Regions from separate parts of the Homo sapiens genome. Here regions 1 and 3 are each linked to region 2. Evidence: promoter capture Hi-C in 16 types of primary human blood cells and fetal thymus (Javierre and others, 2016). All regions are on one chromosome and are shown on one strand. Each heading gives the region's core, a stretch centred on a gene start or on the middle of the fragment in contact. The rest is flanking DNA. Distances are from core to core; before and after follow the strand shown.

Region 1 (3,731 bases), core at 1,222-3,721, 340 kb after region 2:
AGATATGGTATGGTTTGGCTGTGTCCCCACCCAAATCTCGAATTCCCTCGTGTTGTAGAAGAGACTTGGTGGGAGGTAACTGAATGGGGCAGGTCTTTCCTGTGCTATTCTCGTGATAGTGAATAAGTCTCACAAGATCTGATGCTTTTATAAAGGGAAATTTCCCTGCACAAACTCTCTTCTCTTGTCTGCTGCCATGTGAGACGTGCCTTTCACCTTCAGCCATGATTGTGAGGCCTCCCCAGCCACGTGGAACTGTGAGTCCATTAAACCTCTTTCTTTTGTAAATTGCCCAGTCTTGGTTATGTCTTTATCAGCAGTGTGAAAATGGACTAATACAAGGTGGAACTTCATCTGGACTCAGGGAAGGCCAGGAGACAGGAGGTCAGACCAGCTAGAGGGACCACCTAAGCAGAGGTGTCCTGAAAAGGGAAAGTGCTGAGCTGGGCTGGGCTAAGGACATGCATTTTTTGTGCTTCTCTCCATCATGCATGTCCCTGAGGTACCTTCTGTTTTCATGCTGTTCCTCAGTGGCCCAGTGTGAGTGACTCTTGGCTCCAGACTGCTTGACACAGCTTAGGATGCCAGCTGCAGAAGGGTCAGCCCATTCCCAAGTGAAGGTGTTTTCTCCTCCAGAGTGAGCTGCAGGTCCTTGAACTTCCAGTTGCATGCGGCTGACTGGGGACATTGTCACCATCTGAAGAGCAGACCTTGATAAGGGATATTTGGAAAGGTTTCCTGAGGCTTCTAGGTAGAGCAGGGGTGCTCAGCCATTTGGAGCTGGAATATACACTCTGTTAAGTCTCCCAGGCTTGAAGGGGCTGGGCTTCCAGAGTGGTTTGAACAGGCCCCGAGGACTGGCTGATGGGCATCAGGGCCTTTCCGGGAGAGGCTGGGGGACACACTGCTGCCATCACACTCTTCAGTCTTCTTCGCCTCTCTTCCTCAGCCTGTGGTGAGAGACGGGTCTGTGCCGGCCATTCATAAGGAGATGAGATGGCTCATAACACACCAACTGGAAGGGCCCTGGTAAACCTCTACTCCTGTGATCACAAATGCAGATTCCTGCAAGGACAGCCCGGCAGCTGAAGGAGGGAGGGAGGTGCGCAGCTGTTGCCAGCCCTAGCCGAGTGTCACCATGCAGAAATATGGGGCCCTTGTTGCCAGAGCTCCTGTTTTAATATTTTTGAAGGATTTAAGCCAGAGTCTCCCTTTTGCAGCCCTTTCCTCCCTCCAATGAAATAATGCTATTGAGCTCCAAAACCTTCAGGAGCCCCAGGTTCTGGGAGGCAGCATGCAAACCACTGAGGCCCTGCAGGCGCACTCATTGAAAATAGGTGAGGTAGACGAGGCTGGGAGGGCTTAGATTTGCCAAGGCCCCTCAGAGAGAAGCCAGTTTCTCAGACGCCCCTATGCTCCACTGCCAGGGAACACATTTTCTGAATTCTTTGTCTTCCCCCCCCGACTCTTCCTAGGAGTGGCTCTTAAATATTGTAGTGTGTGTTTCCCTGGAAGTGCGCTATTGTGTTTATCTCGCTAGCTAGAGGGAAAGCATGATGCAGGCCAGGACTTTATTTTTTTCTTCCCTATCCTAGGGGGTGTAGCCCAGCCCCTGGTGCCTCCATAAACCCAGGTGGGATTGCTGTGAAGCTAATGAAGTGGAAGCTTCAGGTCCCCGGACTTGTAGCACCCTAGTGAGGGGCCGTGGGAGGGGCACTAGCAGTGAGTTCACAGAGTCATATGGTTTATAACATTTGCAAAAAACTAAGATTTTTTGTATTCTTTGTCCTGAAGAGGGTTCCTAAAATTGTATAAGCTTCAGGCCCCACAAAACCTGGACCTACTGCAGATGTTGGTACCAGTCTCACAGACTGGCTGCTAGTGTTTTATTTTAACTTTCCCCTAAAAAATATATGCCTGTTTTTTCAGAAAGCAGTTGAAGAATATAGTTCACCAGGCTGGTCAACATGGCGAAACCCTGTCTCTACTAAAAATACAGAAATTAGCTGGGCGTGGTGGCGCATGCCTATAATCCCAGCTACTTGGGAGGCTGAGGCTGCAGTGAGTCGAGATTGCACCACTGCATTCCAGCCTGGGTGACAGAGCAAGAGACTTCTTCAAAAAAATAAAAAAGAAGAAGAATGTAGTAATATTCTGTCTTTTTTTTTTTTTTTTTGAGACAGAGTCTCCCTCTGTTGCCCAAGCTGGAGTGCAGTGGCACGATCTTGGCTCACTGCAGCCCCAGCCTCCCGAGTAGGTGGGAGTATAGGCATGCGCCACCACGCCAGACTACTTTCTGTATTTTTAGTAGAGACGGGGTTTTGACATGTTTGCCAGGCTGGTCTCGAACTCCTGGCCTCAAGTGATCTGCCTGCCTCAGCCTCCCAAAGTGCTGGGATTACAGATGTGAGCCATTGCGCCTGGCAGAAGTAATGTTCTCTTTCTAAAGTTAGATGATAAAGGATGCTTATTTTATTGTGCTTTATAATTCATATATATGTTGTATTTATTGCTATATTGTAAAAATATTTTATAATAATACACGAAAAAAGCCAAATATGTTGATCCAAAAGGCTTATAATGAAGCCAGCAGTCCCCTGACACATCCTTCCTCTTTCCCTTTCTCCAGAGTTAATCATTTTTAACTATTTTTAATTAATAGGCTTATATGACTGTTTCTTAATTTATCAGTTTTGAAATATGTTGACTTCCTGCTTGGTAGATTAGGAACCAATACATACATCAATATTTAATGTATGCATTATTGTGACCATAAATTGTATTGTTCGATGCTGTGCAAGTAATGTGCCGTGGTCACACATTAGGAGTACAATCCTTCCTGTCCCAATATTCCTCAGGTGGATGCTTTCCCTCCTTGGGGGCCTGATTTTCTGTGTATCTATTGTTCCAAACTGGTCTGGTTGCTCCGCAGGCCTGCTGCTCAGCTGTTGTCCCGGGACTTCTTTTTACAGTCTTCTGTGTTAGATTCTCCTATTCCTAGATCCTATATATTTTATTTTCTTTATTTTCCTTATTTATGTCTCATTTTGCTGAAATCATCCAGAAGTTCCTAAGAAAAGTGCATGGGAGGTAGATTTTGTTTTGTTTTTTGTTTTTGAAGCTTGTGTGCCTGCAAATATCTCTATTCCTCCCTAATGGATAGAAATATCCATTCCAAATATCTCTATCCAGTAGTGGATAATTTAGCTGGCTATAGAATTATAAGCTGAAAATAATTTCCTTTCTGAACACTGAACACATTATTCTGTTATCTTCTAGTTTCTAGTGTGGCTGTTGAAGTCCAGTGTCCTTCCAGTTCCCCTGAAAAGGACCCTTGTTCTTTCTTTTCTAAAGTTTTAGTATCTTCTGCCTCTTCTCTTCTCAAATTTCACAATGATTGCTTTGCTGATCTTTTTGCTTTGTGGATATAACATTTTCTCTTCCGTCTCTAAGGATATTATTGATTATATTTTTGTCCTCTATTTCTCATCATTGTCTGTTTCTTTGGTTCTCTTCTATCTCTGAGGATATTATTGATTATATTTTTGTCCTCTACTTCTCATCGTTGTCTGTTTCTTTGGTTCCTTTTCTTCTGTTTTGGTCTCTCCCTTTCTTGGTGTAGACTTTCTCAGATGTCCTGTGACCCTTTGCTGTCTATATGAAGAGGGAGACCATAAAAATCTGATTAGAGTGCATAGGTGAAATGTACAGGAGGGGCAGGATTTTATCAC
Region 2 (3,370 bases), core at 502-3,001:
CCAGGCAGCCACAGAGGAGCAAGTACTGCCCTATGCAAGAGCATCCCTGAACACTCCAGGGCAGGGGGGCCACTCCTGATGGAGTCTGTCAGGTGGATGAAGGCAGAAGGACATTCCCAACGGTGAGAGCCACTCATGTGAAGACCAGAGACAAGAGCAAGCATGTCCAGATGATGTGGGTGTGGCCTGTGGCACCTGGTGGGGACTGGCCAGCAGTGAGCCTGGCATGGAGAAGAGCCAGATCACCAAGGGAGCTGTGTGCTCAGCCCTGAAACAGGACTTTGTTCTGGATTGAAAACTTCAAAGGGTGAAGGCACATAAGCCTTGCAAACTGTAAAGTGCATGCAGCATCCACAGAAACTACAATCCCTGGCAGGATTGAGTCCTGTGCCAAGCCAAGCCTCAGCAGCCTGCCAGTTTCTGGCCCAGGGGTCCTGGATGATTTCCTTCACCCACAGGTGTACCAGTCCATAGGATTGACTGGCACATGACTTTGCATACAAAACACCTGAAATGTAGGCTAGGCCCTTGCTTCTCATCTGCAGTTGCTACGACCATTTGGGGATGGTCATTCATTGTGTGGGACGTTCCCTGATGCCCTCTCTCCGGATGCCCAGTGGGGCTCCAGAGACAACCCACAGCATCCTCCTGCCGGAGGATCTGGAGGGAGAGGCACAGTCCACAGAAGGGGCCCTAGCCAAGAACTGGTGTGCCACGCATGCCAAGGAGAAAGGAACTGCATATCTACACCACACTCTGGCCCAGAACCAATGGCAAGGGTCACAAATATGCCGTCGTTCACCCTACCATTGCCAACCACGTCGGAGCACAATCTGAAGTCTCAATGGTGTCTTCCCAGAACTCGGGCCTTCCACAACAAGACAAAGCAAGTCCCAACTCCCCGACTCCAATAAGGGCCGCTGGACAGCCTCTGCAGCAGCCTCGAAGCCCTAAGGTCCTGGCCAAAAGGCAAAAGCACAGGCTCATGGGACCTGATGCCCACAAGACAAGGGTTTCAAGCCCCCAGCCCTCATCACCCCAGTGCCCATCTTGAAGAAGGGCACAGCCTGGCCCTGCTAATTTTTCTACCTCCTGGGGGACTGGTGGCCTACCTCTCTGTGACTCCCAGCCACGTACCTCGCTTGGTCTTTGGAGGCCTGAGACCCTCGTCCTGGGCCAGGGCCTCCCAAGTCTCCCGCTCCTTCCAGCGCCTCAGCTGCTCCTCCCGCATTTTGTAGAAGAGGATGTGCTTCTGCACATCGCTGAGCTCGGCAAGGAGCTCGGGGTCGATGTACATGTCGTGCAGGATCTGCTGCAGCATGATGCCACCTGGGATGCACGCACCAGAAGGGCAGCCAGCAGGGGAAGCAGGGCCAGGCAGAACGCCCGAGGGGCTGCTCTGCACTACGGACTGCTCAATCCGGGGCCACTCTCGGTGCCCCTTCTCTGTGCAGCATTGTCAGTTGGCCTCAGCTTGCAGCCAGCGACGAACTCATCTCCTCTACCCAGGACAGCAAAAGAGGCCAGGCAACAGGACCCAAAGGGGCAGGTGGGACTCTGCAAGGGGGAGCAACCACCAGGAGCAATCTAGTCCTTCTCCTGGGTCACCAAGCACGGCATCCCAGGAGAGCCCATGTCTTGGCATCACCTGGGGTTCTGAGACAATGGGAAGGGCCCAAGCCTCCAGCTCAGCCAGGAAATGCCCAGTCCCAGCCCTGCCTGGGCTGGTAGGTGTCGAGTGATCTGTTAGTGGAAGGTAACAATGACACCAGCTATATCAATGACACTGCCCCGGCCAGCTGGGAACTGATCTCTCCTCTGCAGATAAGAGGAGGAGAAGGAGGCAGACTTGCCTACTAAATTCCATGTCTTTTCAGCCAATTTCAAACACAGACCAGAGGAGCCTGCCAGAAGCTGCTGGGCCCCTCAGCCCTCTCAGCCCCTCTCTCTGCGGGTTCCTTCGCTGCCAACTTTCTTCCTTTCCAGAACATTTGGCATTCTGAGATGATGCGTTTAAAACTCTGCCTTGGGGGAGGAAAGATTTTTCCTCCTATCTGTGTTACAGCCAAGAAAGAAAACAAAATGGAATCAGTAGAGACAACTGGAGGGGATTTTATCTTGGAATTCCAGGACAGAAAGGAAGCAGACATCCTTTCCCTTTGGCCTATATATAATGAGATCCTGCAGCCATGCGTGGCTGACAGATAAACCCTCCAGGGGCCAGTTTTAATGGTCGTTGTTAATCTTGTTTGTTGCAGATGCCTGGAGTTGACCAAAAAGAAAGAAGATGAAACTGGCTCTTCTCTGTGCCCTGATCAGAAGCACACTGGAATGGCGGGATGTTGCCTTCTGCTGGGAGGGAAGCCACCCTCTCTTTGGTGTGTGAAGGTGGGTAGAAGCTGCCGTTGCTGAGATCTTTAGGGTGAAAGCTCACCCTAAATATGTGCTCAGAGCAAATCACAGATGCCTTCTTATTGGGACAAGGATATTGAAGCTCAGAGAAAGTAAGTGGCTTGCCTATGGCTTCCTAATGGACAAGTCACTGTATTGGGACTCCCCCGTTTTGAAATTTGACATCCACTAGCAACTATGAATCTGTTGATGGTTTGAAAACATAACCCAACCAAGGGAAAACAAACGAACCAACAGGATTTGGCACTGTGGCTTGGTTGGATTGGTGACCTTCCTGTCCCCTTCCTTGCCCATGAGGGTGGAAGGTGGATCAGGTACCCAAGAGTGATGGAAGAGGGGTGGAGAGTTGGCATTCTTCCCCCTCTGCAAGGTTAACACAACAGGAAGATGGACTAAGCAGATTCAGATGAGCTGTAAGCCCATAGGGTCAAAGCTCCTGCTCAGCTAGGCAATGTCCAGGTCACAGGAGTGGAGTCAGACGCCCCACCCCTCCCCACCCAGGTCCAGCTAGCTGGTCCCAGTGTGCCCAGACCTTCCTAGAGCCGCCACAGGACTCGCCTGTCCGCTGCAGAGCTGTGGCCCTGGACTCCCATCCACCCACCTCAGGGCTTGCACCGACTCCCCCACCGGGAGTCCTGGCTCCCCTCAGTTTCTGAGACCGGGGGTCTTCCCTAGCCTCTGCCCAGCTATTCTCTTTCTCCCCCTCGCCGTGGCTGGTGGGAGACCCCCGAGTCCAAAGAGGAGACAAGGGGAGGAAGGCCCCCAGGGTCTGGGCTCCTGCGGGCAGCTTCTTTTTGTCTTTCCCGGGCCGCCAGATACCTACGACCACAAGAGGGCACGGGGCAGGGACAACGCTGTAGGGAGCAGCAGGAATGGGCCGGCTGGAGGCGGGCGAGAACGGTGATGGTGCCACCCTGGAGGACCGTCGGGAGAGTGAGGCAGCCGGACTAGAATGACC
Region 3 (3,386 bases), core at 118-2,617, 330 kb after region 2:
CACTGTACCTCACCTCTTTAAGTGTGGATCCTTTCTTAGACTCTGGGGGTGAAGTAGCGAGAATCTATTGGCTTCTTCTTATTTTCTCCCTCTGGGGCATCCAAGTGAGAACATGCACCATTCTGCCAAATTACCACTCCTTTGTATACTATCTCCAAAATACGTGTCCAAATTCTTGGTTGCTGTTTTCTCCTCTCTTGTCCCTACTGTCCTTGAAGGATTTTACCTGTGCTCTTCCTCTACTGCCATTTTATTAGGATTTGGGGAGGGAGAGGAAATAAATTTGTGTTGCAAATCAACCATGTTTCATTGGACATCCATTTCTCTAGCAGTCTCTCTTTTGGTAACACCCAGTGGGTGGATGTTGGCACTTCTGGAACTATCTTCCATGTCTATTATCTTTTCTTTTCTACTTTCTATTTATTTATCCAAGTCTGCTGTTTTCAGGGAGGATTCCAATCTTTCAGTTCACTAATCAGCTCTTTAGCTGCATACATTCCACTCCATAGCTCATCCACTCAGGTGGTTTTATTTGTTTAAACTATGAATATATTTTTTGTTTTTTATTCCCATGATCAGTAATACAAAATGAACACATTGTTCATCTCTGACATCCCTAATTGATTCTTTCCTATCCTTTCTTATTTGAGAATATTCATTATACTTACTTCAAAGCACATTACTGGTTGTCTATTTGTTCTGTTTAATCTCCAGATCTGGAGCCAGACAGCTGAGGTTAATCTGTGGCTTCTCATGTTAAGCTATGTGACTTTGGACGAAGTTACTTAATCACTTGACACTTTAGTTTCTTCGTTTGTAAAATGGCAATAAAAATAGTCCTACCTTAAACTCTTATAAGGCAGGACTCTTGTAAGGTATTCATGTGTCTATTGCAAACATAAAATAGTCCCACTTTATGTTTGCAATAGTGCCTGACACATAAATGCTCAGTAAATATTAGCTATGATTATTATGTTTCCTCAGGTGGACGTCTCCCTTTCATGGTGGTGCTTCTCAAATGATATTTTTTGACAGGGAACTCATCTTTACCCATGAAATTTTCTGCAAGAAATCTGCTGGCCTAGCTTGCTGTGAGGGAGGGCTGGAAATCGCTGGATGAGCTTGTGCTCCATGTTGCTTTCAAGGAGAGTGCAGAACAGGCAGAGGCACTATCAGGTGGACCAGCTGTGCTCTCACAGCTGGTCTTTGGGATGTGGCTGCTACTTAACTCTTCCTTGGCTTTGCCAGCCATATGGGGCCCTGTCCTGTCTTTCATTCCTAACACAGTTCATACCAGGAGACAGACACTGCTGTCCTGGTCATCTTGTCTGCCGGGGTGGGGTTGAGGGAGATATTCAGGGTCAATTCATCTAGCTCCTTCCACGGGCATACTTGTTTAACCCTCTGTCAGTAGCCCTTTGGTCCCGAGTCTTGTTCCAGGCATTCACCACCTCTGGGTGTGGAATGCCTTGTTGCTGGTCCCATTATTGAAGTATATACTGTAGTATACCTATAGTATGTCCTTGGCTGCTGCTCATGAGCTGGGCTGCAGTATCAAATCAGATCCTGTCTGCTTTTGGCTTCTCAGAAACGTGTCAGTGCTTCTGATTCTCTGAACATTTCCTGTTATCTTTTTGAGAACACTAATTTTTTTCCTTCCCTGTCATTCCTGGAGGATGGGCCTGGGTGGAGAAATGGCAGCATGTGCTCAGTCCACTATCGCGAAAAGGGAAGTCAGAGAATGTATAGAAAAGATAAGAAGTAAGCAGAATCTTGGAGAATGAGTAGGAGCAGCCAAAGTGAAAAGAGGAGAAAATGCCATTGTAGGCTGGGGAGACGGCCCGAGCGAAGGTGTGCAGACAGGAGACCACAGGGTAGGGCGAGGGGACACAAGCAATGCGATGTTTCAAGAGAGGCGAGACATCTAGAACTTGTGGACTTCATTGGAATAAAATATATCAGACAAGCTAAGATGCAATCAGATACAGTGAGATGCATAAGACATCTCATTTCACACAAAAGCATACTTCTATTTGCAATACTCCTCTAGTTCTGCCTTACTACACAGGAGCTCTAACAAAATACATTTACTGAAATTGCTCAAAAAAGACATATTTATATGTGTGTGTTATAAGTGTATATATTGCACTATTGAGTATGTTCTCTACAGGAGAGAACTTCCATTTTAAATAGGCATGGATGTGAACAGCCGTACATGCTTAAAACTCTATACATATGATGGGGGAGAGAGTTTTCCATAGACTAGTTTCTGGCTCCATACTTGTTTCTCCTCCACTGCTGACATATTTCTGAAAACAGGTGCTGGGGAAATGTTTATTATTTAGATATCATCTCCGACCCTGCTGGCTGAATCAGAACAATATTCCTGGAAGCCCTTCCTACGCTGGAAGACTAGCGGTAATGCAACCACACACAGAAGTGACTGTAAACTACATAAAGCTGTCTCATCCCAAGCCAGATCCTAAAAATGCCTATGACCATTCCAACATGAGGGGCACGAGGAGCAATGAGATGGAGGGGAAATCAGAGTGGAAAGAGCCAGCCATCTTAACTACAGTCAAGTGCTGCACGAGGACATTTCAGTCAATGACAGACCATGTGGGACCATGATGGTCAGGCAGGGGCACATGACAGGCAGGCGGCAGGGGCAGGAAGGACTAGCAGCTCTTCCCTGGCTAGCAGCGGGGGTTCTGCCTCCACCTGCCTCCCCAGGACAGAAGCCAGATGAGCTGGACCATGATGGTCCCTTCAGATTATCATACCATATTTTTCCCGTACCTTTTCTGTGGTTAGGCATGTTTAGATAGACAAGTACTTGCCATTGTGTTACAATTGCCTAGCATATTCTGTACTGTAACACGCTGCAATGGCTTGTAGCCTAGAAGCGATAGGCTATACCAGGCAGCCTAGGCATATAGTAGGCTCTACCATCTAGTTCTGTGTAAGTACACCTGATGACATTTGCACAACAACAAAGTCACATAAGGATGCATTTCTCAGAACACATCCCTGTCATTAAGCAACGCATGACTGCATTTGCACTTAAAATCGCTTACTTTTGCAAAGTCTGTAAAAACATATTACCATGTCAAACATTGTTAAAGCCTTTCCCACCAGGACCTTGTAAAGAGCCCATGCAAGCAAGGGGCCTTGCAGTTTCCTGGTGAATCCGTCTCTATTGACAGCATTTGAAAAATGATTCTGGCAGACAGAAATCCAGCTGCTATCAGATCTCTAGCTGGAATGGCTTGTCAGACTGTGGTACCCCAGCGGGGGACAGAACCCAGGAGAAAAAGCAGGTTTAGAGAGAAAAAGTTCATTTCTTGACATGATAAATTTGAGCTTTTGAGGGATATTCTGGTAAA

The links. The method cuts DNA at HindIII sites, captures the fragments that hold promoters and counts their contacts. A CHiCAGO score of 5 or more calls a contact.
Region 1: a contact is called between a fragment that was not itself captured here and the fragment with the promoter of SH2D4B in region 2, in 1 of 17 cell types (activated CD4 T cells). The highest score is 5.1, in activated CD4 T cells.
Region 3: a contact is called between a fragment that was not itself captured here and the fragment with the promoter of SH2D4B in region 2, in 1 of 17 cell types (non-activated CD4 T cells). The highest score is 5.2, in non-activated CD4 T cells.

Annotation. Positions count from the first base shown.
Region 1 is chr10:80,192,257-80,195,987 of GRCh38, reverse strand. The region is part of intron 1 of ANXA11 (annexin A11); the gene reads left to right. Among named protein-coding and RNA genes, the nearest start is that of ANXA11, 11 kb to the left of the region's middle. RefSeq lists enhancers at 1-227, 276-951, 952-1,628. The HindIII fragment of the contact is 1,305 bases long and covers 1,819-3,123 here.
Region 2 is chr10:80,536,283-80,539,652 of GRCh38, reverse strand. It overlaps SH2D4B (SH2 domain containing 4B), which reads right to left and starts at 1,751. Exons shown (of 8, transcript NM_001388272.1): 1 at 1,138-1,751. The coding sequence starts at 1,321. RefSeq lists enhancers at 1-47, 3,354-3,370. The HindIII fragment of the contact is 17,935 bases long and covers 1-3,370 here.
Region 3 is chr10:80,210,280-80,213,665 of GRCh38, reverse strand. The region is part of intron 1 of LINC00857 (long intergenic non-protein coding RNA 857); the gene reads right to left. Among named protein-coding and RNA genes, the nearest start is that of LINC00857, 4.3 kb to the right of the region's middle. The HindIII fragment of the contact is 7,999 bases long and covers 1-3,386 here.